Linked DNA regions of Homo sapiens: region 2 is linked to region 1. The links are contacts of gene promoters, found by promoter capture Hi-C in human tissues and cell types (Jung and others, 2019). All regions are on one chromosome and are shown on one strand. The core of a region is centred on a gene start or on the middle of the fragment in contact, and the rest is flanking DNA. Distances in the headings are between cores, read along the strand shown.

Region 1 (5,271 bases), core at 1,766-4,265:
TCTGCAAGAGAAAAACCCTCATGGGTCCACATGGTGAGAAGTTAAGTTTCCTGTAAGTGGGCCTCTCACCCTGGAAAGGAGTTGAGGGACATCAGATGCTGGAACCCTCACTGAAAGTCCAGAATGTCTAAGCCAGTGTTAGATTTTGTAAACAAGTGGAACAGTGTTAAATTTCTATGATGTTGGAGCCATCCAGAGACTACTGGAATTGTCGAGACTTTTGGATTATTATCCTTATCCTTATCCTAATCTTCCTAGCCCTTCAGGCTAGAGTAGGCTTTGATCCTGAGAACCTTGCTGTTGCTCTGAGGAGATATAATTCTGGGAGAAAGAATCTTTTATAAGAACAGTACAGATTGTTCTCAAGAGGGCCATCAGAAGGAAGCCAAAGAGTTCACAGCCTCAGCACCAACAACTCAACATGGTCATCATGTTTTCTATATGGTTTTTCCAGCTAGCAGTACTCCCTTCCATACCTGTGACTGGGCAGTGCTTTTCTCTCTCCCATGTCTAGCCTCCAAAAGTTAAGTGAAAATTAGTCAACTGCACGTGGAAGCCCCCACCACTTTGGGGATCTCTTTATTTCTTTTCAGCCAGGGACCTGTCCACTCCCTTTGAATTAATATGGGAAGAAATTAATACAGGATGAACTGGAGAGAAGGGTTGAGTGTGGCATACTTTCTGAAACCTGGAGCTGGGAATTGCGGAGAAGGGAAGGTCTAGACTAGTTACATCACATAGGGATTACTGTAAATCAAGTCATCTCAAGTCTAGTGAAGACAGCCAACAGAAACAAAACCTAGCATAGGGATAGAAAATACCATGCACGTGTGCAGCCCCACCTAATTCCTGCATCCAAGGCAGGTGTTGTTAATCTATCATAGCACTTAAAAAAAAAAAAAAAAAGAGACCAAAAATAACTTTAGGAACCACCATATTATATCACTCCCAATAGCACTGACCTGGTGATCAAAAACACTTGAGAAGACATCTATTGGCCATCTCTGGCCAATTACACTAAGAAACATATCAAGGTGCTTTTGGCACAGGTGCCCACAAATACGGATGCAGTGCTGAGATAGTTTATGAGACTTGTACCATTTCACAAACTCTGAAATTGGGTTCCATATTGGCAAGGCTGCCACAGTTGTTAAGAATAATCCTCTATGTTTCTTCCTCACAAAACCATATCTCATTTATATCCAGACCATTACTTCACTATAATTACAAGGACAAATTATTAGCAAGAAATAAGAATAGTATTAGAAGAATTGATCCTATTTTGAACCCCTCTCCAGTATCTTCACACTCTTGTCAACTCTCCAGGCCTCTCTCTTGCCCTGAGTTATCAGCCTGTGTGGTGTTAACTACCTTAGAAGGTACAAGCTAAGAAATGTAACAGTATCAACCCTCCCAGTTGCTTAATTATACCCATAGGTAATACAAAAAGCTCTGAAGACCCAAAGATGACATTACTAATGATGTGATTTCAGGAGCCACAGAAGAACCTTACCAGCTTCCCTCAAATCAGTCCTTATCCTCTTTCTATCTTCACTCCCATCATCATCTATTTTCACACTATCCAGCTAAGCAAAGATTCCTGGAGGCTGACTTGTATCTTCAGACTCACAGAGTGAATTCAGCTCTTCTGAATCAAGACCCACCCAGTCTCTTTCATTCAGACCTGTTGCTAACAAATTTATATTTGCCAAGGATATTAGGCAAAAGAGGCTACTTGATTGGTGGCCAACCTCGTGCCCACATGGAAGGTATCTTTAATAGGGTCTTTTCAAACCTTAGTGGAGGAGGGTCAGCTCAATTTGGGCAATGCATTTGTTCCCAGTTTCATTTTCTTCCTGGGAATTAACTCGTCATTTCATTCCTTCAGTCATCTTCTGTGTAGGTGACCGGAGCACTGAGAGGCAGCTCTGATGCACTATTGTGTGTCAGCAGCTCAAAGGCCCTAAAACACTGAAGGTTCTGCATCTGAAGTATTAGATTGTTAGCAGCAAAATATGAAAGATGAGGTGGACAGTCCTCTAAGCCCTATTTAGGGAAGCTTTTCCAAGCCACAATCTTAACTACCTACCCAAAGGATTTGCATTACCCCCAGATTCTGTGCCAACAACCTTTTAAGGAAATACAGTCCTTGGGAAATGAGTTTTGATGGTGAATTGGGGTGTTAAGGAAGGGAAAGATTGTCATAGATGGTAGGGCTTTGAAAATGCAGGGTATCAGCTGCCACTCCTGGCTTCAACACATTGAGTCACTGCCTAGACGGTTCTCTTGGTCTTATTCCCATCCTGGCCAATGCTTAAATACTATTTGTTGAAAATAATTCTTTGAGACAGATTTCAGCTACCTCCCTTCCAGGTTCGATTTAACTTGGTTGTAATTGTCAATTTGTTGTTATAGGTCTTACCTGTGTGAAAGAAAGAAAAAGAAAGAAAGAAAGAAAGAGAAAGGAAATTATAAGGTCAAGTTAACAGTTTTGAGGTTTTGTGTTTTTTTCTGGAACTACTTCAAGTGAGAAAATAAAAAAAAATGGTGACAAAGCTGTACAGATAGAGATAATAGAAGACAAAGAGATTAAAAGGAAATAAAAATGCATGATTAAAAACTAAGAATAAAAAACCTATTTTTATGTTTCCTAAAGGAAATTGTTTATTCTACAGCCTCAGTAGGTAGACACAAACATAAAGATTTCCCTAGAAGACATAGAGTGGGATTTGATAACACTGTCTGTTATTTTCTGTACATTGTGGTAGGTCCAGGAAATATGACATTTTCCCCCTTGATGTGTTATTGTTGTTGTTGGGTGGGGTGGGCATTTTGTTTATTTGTTTGGTGGCAATCAGTGGTAGTAGGGAGTGGGAGGGCTTATATTGGTTTTTCCAGCTATTAAGGGGACATATTGTGTCGTTGTGCTTTTCACGTTATAAAATGTTTATATTTACCAGTACAGCACTGGGCTTTATAAAGACTGCACTCAGAACCACACTGCACAGTCCAGTTTTTTAAAAAGCTGCTACATGACAGACAGGTAATCCCACTGAGTGAGTTTTGAGAAACAAATCAAACGAAGTAAACAAGAAACATAAAAACCAAATAGCAAATGAATAAAAGCCTGTTCTTGTAACTTATTCAACTTTTGCCAAATTCCTACCAATCACTTGCTTTTTAAAAGAAATGTATAATAGCCAAAAGAGAAATTATGTCCCTGTTGTACAGAAGTTAGAATTTTTGACTCCAGGCAGCAGTTTGCTCAGTGATCTTGAACAAGTTATCCAATTGCCTCTACATTTGCATCAGTTTCTCTAGCTGCAAAATGGGGATAATACTATATACCTACCTCACAGTGGGAGGGCAGGAGATTTTGAGGCCCTGAGGTTTTAGGTGGGCTGTGAGGGCCAACGCTTGACACAAAGTCCATGGGTTATTATTCAAGAATGCACAGGCCCATCGGCCTTTTAGAAAGACAAGACAGGGAGTGCTTGTTTGATATTTCAAGGAATAAAGCCGGAGCTCCTGAATTGTAGTCCACCTTAAAAGAGAGACCTGTATTGGAGAATATTTTATTTTTTTGGCAAATTTGATCTTACCCTTTACCAGTTCTATAATTTGGTTAAAAGCTGATTATGTCCTACAATGTCAAAGTCAGCTAACTGTCGTCTACTTAAGACTTCTGGTCATTTCCAACTTATAGAGGAAGGGAGTCTCTAAAATCTCTTCTTCAGAAGGCACCTCACTTCTCAGACTTAAAATTCCACATCAAGTGTTCCATTAAAAGAAGATAAGGCATTCTGAGTGCAAACAAATGGGGGCTTCTTAAACTACACACCAGCAGTCAGTGAGGAAAACTTTGAACAATTATTGAGTTGCTTTCTTGGGTCTCTATAATCAATAACCTGTCTGCAGATATCTATCTATATAAAGATATTATATATAAATATAAATTTACATATATATGCACATGTATATATAGTTGTACATATATGTGTGTATATATATACTTAAATGTAATATTTACAAAATAAAACTGTGATCTCGTCTAGAGAAAATGTATTCATATTACAAACTGCTCTTCCATATTTATGTACCATATTATACCTTTTTATTATTGTTATAATTATTATGGGTATTTCTAATTAATATGATGTTGAAACCTGTTTGGCACCTTCTGGAAGCTACCAAAAAAATGACACTCCATTGAAGTGCTTAAAAGCTGTTCTCATAAGAATTCTTCTGGCCTATTGTAAAAAAGAAAAAAAAAAAGAAAAAGAAGAAAGACACAAAGAAAATAATCTAAACACCAAAAACTAAACACAATTCCAATCCTTTTTCTGTACCTCACGCGCATAAATTTGCTGCTCCTATTTTTTTTTCTGTTTATGTGTTTTTATGGATCTAAGTTAAATCTTTTGGCAATATATAAAAATGTAAATAGTAAACTTTATTTATTAAGAATGTCATCTTTTTTAATTTATATTTACACAATTGTTCATCTAATTTATTTTTTCTATACAGTTTTAAATACTCAGACATATTTTGCTGTTCATGATATTTTTATCCTGTTCTCATGGATTTGTTTTCCCATACTGTTTTCTCTGATCTCAATTACAGGTTGGATCTCACAAATAATAATGTCAGAGACAGAAATATTTTGCCACTGTTGATTACTATACTTTAAAGTTCTATATTATGAAAATATATAATAGCTTGTACGCTTCAGTGTGTTGTTGTGTGGTTTTTGTGTGTTGCGGAATGATAAAGGGCTGTCATATATACACGCTAACATGGAGAGAGCCCTGGGGCCTGGAATTAGACAATCAATGATAGAACAAGATTTTATCCAATATATATCGATTCCTCTACAAAATTAATTCCTGAAAGTATCTAATTTTGCATATGCAAAAACTGAAAAACTTTCTTACATGTTATAAGAAAGTTCTGGGGAGCTAAAGCATATGTCACTCTTGGTTATATATTGCCTTTTGCACACAGCCTTTAATAATATACTTCCAGATGTAAACACTGGTATGGTCCAAAGACACAAACCAGTGCAGTGGTTCCCAAGTGCTAAGCTGTGGATCAGAGCTAGTTCATAACTAAGTTTTCATTTGTCTAAGGCAAAATGTGGGGTCAATTGTTCATTCTTGTGGAGTTCTATCTTTTAAGATGAACTCTTTCTTACTCTTCCGGTATTAAAATGTCATATTTTATATACATATATACACACAATATATGCATATGCAGGCTCATATATACATA
Region 2 (5,271 bases), core at 1,265-3,764, 110 kb before region 1:
AGATCCAGACAGAGGGTTTTTCTCTATACAGTGAGTGCACCAGTCCTAAAGGAAACTACTCCAGGGAAGTCACAGGGGGTGAGTGGGCAGTTCTCATCCCATAGCAAGCAGTAGTTTCTGGGCAGAGGCATAACATGATAGGAGCAGTATTTTAAAAAAGATCAACCTCCCTGAATGGGATGCTCTTCAAGGGCCAACAAAATACTCTTGGCAAACTGACCCAAAGAGAAATCAGGGTGATTTTAGCTTTCAACAGCAGTCAGAAACCCAGCCCAAATTATCCGTAAGTTTAAATTTAACTATCAGCCGCCATTGGCAGGACTCTGAAAGGTCCTGGCTGGAGTTGGTTCCTCAGTTTAGGAGTCCAAAACCACATGTATAGCTTGAGTTCAGCCTCATTACCAAGGAAGGGTCTCCACAAGAGTCTGAAATCCCTTTTCCATTTGTCCCGTGTGCATTTTGCCAAGAGAACTTCTAAAGGGACAGGGAGGGAGGAAAAGCTGATTGACCAGCCCCGAAGCACAAGGACCACTTGTCTGCCTCAGGGTTCATCCCCCAAATACCTTTTTCCACCTGAGAAGTAGGAGTGATATTCCTGACTTCATATGATTGTTATGATATATTGTTTTATTAATTTATAAACTTATTCATTCATCACATAGGCTTTTATTTATTGAGCACCTCTTATGTGCCAGGTTCATGCTAGACACCAAGGATGCCTGTGTTTGTGACAGTTCCTGTCTTCCAGAAAGTGATCAACAAATATTGATTATTATGGCTAACAAAAATAATAATCTAGTTCTTACTCACAAGTAGAGAGTGACCTGTCCCCGGAAGAGATTGAGCAGAAATTTGAGAATCATTCTTTAGGGAAGTCATGCATGAGATTCTATTAAATAGCATGTTCAAACAGACATATTTCAATATTTTTCTCTTTTGTCTTATCTGGCTCTTTCTTGAAATTCAGAACTCCTGGTACCTGTGAAGTGTTAGCCTCTTCTGTTTTTCTTAACTTTTCTGACCATCCCTCCACAGACCTTCTTTCACCTACTCTTTAAGTATCAGCAGTCTCCAATGTTCCATAATAGGCACACTTCTCATTCTCCATTCTCTCCTTGTATGACTCCAAAATCTCTATCTTTAGTCTGGGCCTTTTTTTTTTTTTTTTTTTTTTTGACCCATGAACTTGTATATCTAATTGCTCTACTTTGACGCCCCAAGGGAACTCACATTCGACACATCTTACACAAAGCTTGCCATCTTTCTTTCCAGACCTGCTGCAAGTGTTTTTCCTAATCTCAACTGGTGGCGCCAGTAGCCAACCAGACATTTAAACAGAAGCTTGGGAAACATCCATAACTCTTCCCTCTCTGCCATTTCCCACATCCAAATAATTGCCATTCTTCCCATTTTACTTTGAAAACGTTATCTTGTCTGCGTCCAAATCAGTCTCTCTCGCCCCATGATCATTACTCTACCTGAGGCCCTCTTCAGCTCCTGATTAGGCTTTTATAAGAGAAAGCTTGTAAAATGAACATGTTGCTTGTTCATTTTTTTGCTTGCCCCAATCTACCTGCCCATAGGTGAGAGCAAGTTTCCTAAAGTGCAGACACCTTTTGTTGCTCTCCAATTGAGAGTGTCAGATGGCTCCATGTTGCCCTTGAGATAAATTTAAATTCCTTACTGTGTCATTTAAGACCTTGCGTGATCTGAGCCCAGGATTTGCTTTTCTTTTCTTTTTCTTTTTTCTTTCTTTTTCTTTTTCTTTTCTTTCTTTCTTTTTTTTTTTTTTTTTTTGACAGATTCTCACTTTGTTGCCAGGCCAGAGTGCAGTGGCACTGTCTGGGCTCACTGCAACCTCCACCTCCTGGGTTCAAGTGATTCTCCTGCCTCAGCCTCCCAAGTAGCTGGGACTACAGGCACATACCACCACACCCAGCTAATTTTTGTATTTTTGTAGACATGGGGTCTCACCATGTTGGCTAGGATGGTCTCGATCTCTTGACCTTGTGTCCTGCCCACCTCGGCCAGGATTTGCATTTTATACTCCAATACCATCTTGTGCTTTATACCTCCTACTATATTGCTGGCCTCATCTCATTTGCTCACAGTGTCCCCCTGCTGGAATGTGCTCCTCACCACCCGTTCCTCCTCTGAGAGATACAGCCCAGGTGTTGCCTCCTAAGGGAAACCTTCTTAAATCTGGGTTAGATTGGATTGGGGGTCCCTCCTCTGTGCTCCCACAGTATCTTGTACCTCATGAGGGTCAGAATCCTGTGCCGTCATCATTTACATATCTCCCCTCTCACTAGGACCTGAGTTCTTGGAGCACTGAGACCTGCTTTAATTCATCTGATTTCCCAAGAGTTAGTCCAGGGACTGACAAATAATTTGCAGTTCAGTAAATATAGAATAAATGAGTAAAAGAAGGATGTATTTCTTAAGAGACAGTTTTATTTTTCAGGCAAGAAAGTGTAGTTGAGCTTTGCTGGTCTTTAGAGTCAGACAATCCTGTTTGAATAGGAGACTTTCCCCCTTAGCTGTCATCTCGGGCAGGTTATCTTGGGTCAGGTGGCTTGGGGTGGTGGTTTCATGCTCAGACCCCTGAACTGGGCTGCTTGTATCCAAATCCTAGTTCCCCCACAAAAGGGGTGGGGGCTTCTTTAAAATGTTAATGTTACTATATCGATACACCAAGAGGTAGAAAGTATGCTATCTTAGCCAGCAGTACTTTTTTGAGGCTTCTTTCACTAAGTAGAGACGGGCTCAAATGCTGCCTTTCCTTCTCTATCTCTATACTGACAGAGGTCATTACTCTTTGGTAAGGTCCAAAGGCTTTAGAATTTTAGAAGAATGGGTGGGTGGAACCAGTGATTTTGGTGGTATTTGGATCACCCCATAAGACTCTCGGATGGCCCCAAATTGAGCTGCTTTTTAATACCAAATCTCAGTCTGCGGCTTGCTTCCATTTGGGGAGAGAGCCTAATTAACTCGTAGCTGGAAAGAACTGCAGGTCTGCCACCCCCCAGGCAGAGAATTCAAAAGGAAGTGGATAGCTGTGTAAATAACACTGCTTTAAGGGGCATTTAAGCCAATGCTCTTTGTTAAGGAAATTGATGGCTTTGTAAGTACTGCGTCTGAAGGGAGTACTTGAGCTGAAGGTCCCCATCTCGCCTCGTAAATTTCCTAATGGACTGTGGGCCTGCAGGCTGGGCCCAGCGTGTTCAATCACTTGCCAACAAAAACTCGGATTTCACTCTAAAAAAATTAAAAACGTTTAACCAAAACATAAGTTATTGAGCCTGTGCAGTTTAACTGTGGCACAAGGTAGCAGAGACAGATTACTTCCTTTAAGGAAAGGGAAACTCCTCATCTTTTACTTTAAAAAATTTGTTTTTTAAATGCTGGATGTGGTGCTACGTGCTTTCTCAACAGCTTCTCATTTTTTTGTCCTCATAACAGTTGGGAAGGTAGTCATTATTTTGCCAATTTGCCAAAGAGGAAACGGACTCAGGGCTAAAGTGTGCTGGTCATTGACACCAGCTAATTAGTGAAGAGCCAGGTTGTGATCACAGCTCCATCAGGCCCCTGAGCCCCCAAGTAGTGCCAAATCATAGGGCATCCGAGAGAGAATCAGATCAGCCCATCTCATCAGATTCTCCTGAATATCCACATCCATTCAAAATAGATTAACTGGACAGCATGGGAATGACTTACCCTCTTGAAACCTCAATTTCATTGTCTGTAAAATGGGGATAATAATAGGACCAAACACGGGGCTCTTCTAGATTTGAATGCCTTATGTACTTGAAACATTTAGCACAATGCCCAGCATGGAGAAAGTCATCCAGTTATTCATTTCACAAATACGCTAAGTACAATTTTAACTGGGGAAGCGGATGATGGTATAGGAAGACCTAGTGAGGGTCCATTAGCCCTTCTGGGGGTGGGTTTCCAGGCAGGTTTTTGAGAGGTTAAACTGTGAATAAAGGACAAATGGGGACTAGTCACAGAAAAGGCAGCTCTGGGGATTTGAAGAAAGCTTCTGCAAACGTGGGGAGGTGAGAGGGAACATGGTCCACTCAGGGCAACGACAATTTGTGTCTGGAGCTTAGACTAGAGTGCGTTCGAGAAGAGAGAAGCCTGCAGAGGCAGGCAAGGACCAGAGTACACCTTGTCAATCATCATCAAGCTCCTGTTGGGAAAAGTTGAATGAATAACTCAGTATCTTCTAGGGCAACCACTTTCAATTTTAGACCAACTGTACTTTGTTAGAAGAGTTTTCCATTGTGTCCTCCCTGAGCCTTCTTTTCTTCAGGTTAAGCATCTTCATACCTACATGATTATTGCTCAGTGGTTGGTGCCTATCCAGGGTCCTATTCTTTGACCATATCCTACCACATCAGTGGCCCAGAATTGGCCTCTTCAGCCATGACTGGTCCAGCTAGGACTGGAGACAACTTCTCTGGCCTCTAGCTTGGAATCTATAGCCAATGACTCAATCTGCAGTCTCATGCTTTTGTTTGGGCAAACACATCCTTCATTTGGCGGAATCTGACTTCAGAGTGACTGCTTCTTGGAACTTTTCGTGAACATGAATAGTTATGATGACTCTTATCATCCCTGATCAAAAAGGGCAGTGGTTTTGATTGATATTTTCAAATGTTCCCAGTTAACTCTTAAGATTTAGGACCAGGCCAGGCGCGATGGCTTACACCTATAATCCCAGCACTCTGGGAGGCTGAAATGGGCGGATCACGAGGTCAGGAGTTTAAGACAAGCCTGACAAACATGGTGAAACCCTGCCTCTACTAAAAATACAAAAATTAGCCGAGTGTAGTGGTCCGTGCCTGTAATCCCAGCTACTTGGGAGGCTGAGGCAAGAGAATCGCTTGAACCCGAGAGGCAGAGGTTGCAGTGAGCCAAGATTGCGCCACCGCACTCAAGCCCAGGTGACAGAGCGCACTCAAGCCCAGGTGTCAAAAAAAGAAAAAGAGAAAAGATTTAGGACCAATTTATTTCTGTCTCCCTCCCTCCCTCCCTCCCTCCCTCCCTTCCTTCCTTCCTTGCTCCCTCCCTCCCTCCCTGCCTCCCTTTCTTCCTTCTCTCACTGCTTTCCCTCTTCTTACTGAGAGATGAGAAAGACATATACACACCTTGTTAAAGAAGAAAATTACAGCTAAGCAATACAAATCAGAACATATAGATTTAAGTTATTATAGTATTTTTATTCTAAGGGCTGAAGAGTAACCCATTCATTACATAAGAAAA

The links. The method cuts DNA at HindIII sites, captures the fragments that hold promoters and counts their contacts. A contact is called where the count stands out against the background at its distance.
Region 2: a fragment that was not itself captured here is called in contact with the fragment with the promoter of PAPPA-AS1 in region 1 in 5 of the 25 tissues and cell types used here (H1 embryonic stem cells, IMR-90 fibroblasts, mesenchymal stem cells and 2 more).

The regions. Positions count from the first base shown.
Region 1 is chr9:116,397,591-116,402,861 of GRCh38, forward strand. It overlaps PAPPA-AS1 (PAPPA antisense RNA 1), which reads right to left and starts at 3,016. Exons shown (of 1, transcript NR_103711.1): 1 at 567-3,016. It overlaps PAPPA (pappalysin 1), which reads left to right. Exons shown (of 22, transcript NM_002581.5): 22 at 1-4,731. The HindIII fragment of the contact is 20,173 bases long and covers 1-5,271 here.
Region 2 is chr9:116,283,394-116,288,664 of GRCh38, forward strand. All of the region lies in intron 9 of PAPPA (pappalysin 1), which reads left to right. It overlaps PAPPA-AS2 (PAPPA antisense RNA 2), which reads right to left. Exons shown (of 6, transcript NR_170222.1): 6 at 2,435-4,195. Among named protein-coding and RNA genes, the nearest start is that of PAPPA-AS2, 78 kb to the right of the region's middle. RefSeq lists enhancers at 2,580-3,156, 3,157-3,731. The HindIII fragment of the contact is 4,653 bases long and covers 189-4,841 here.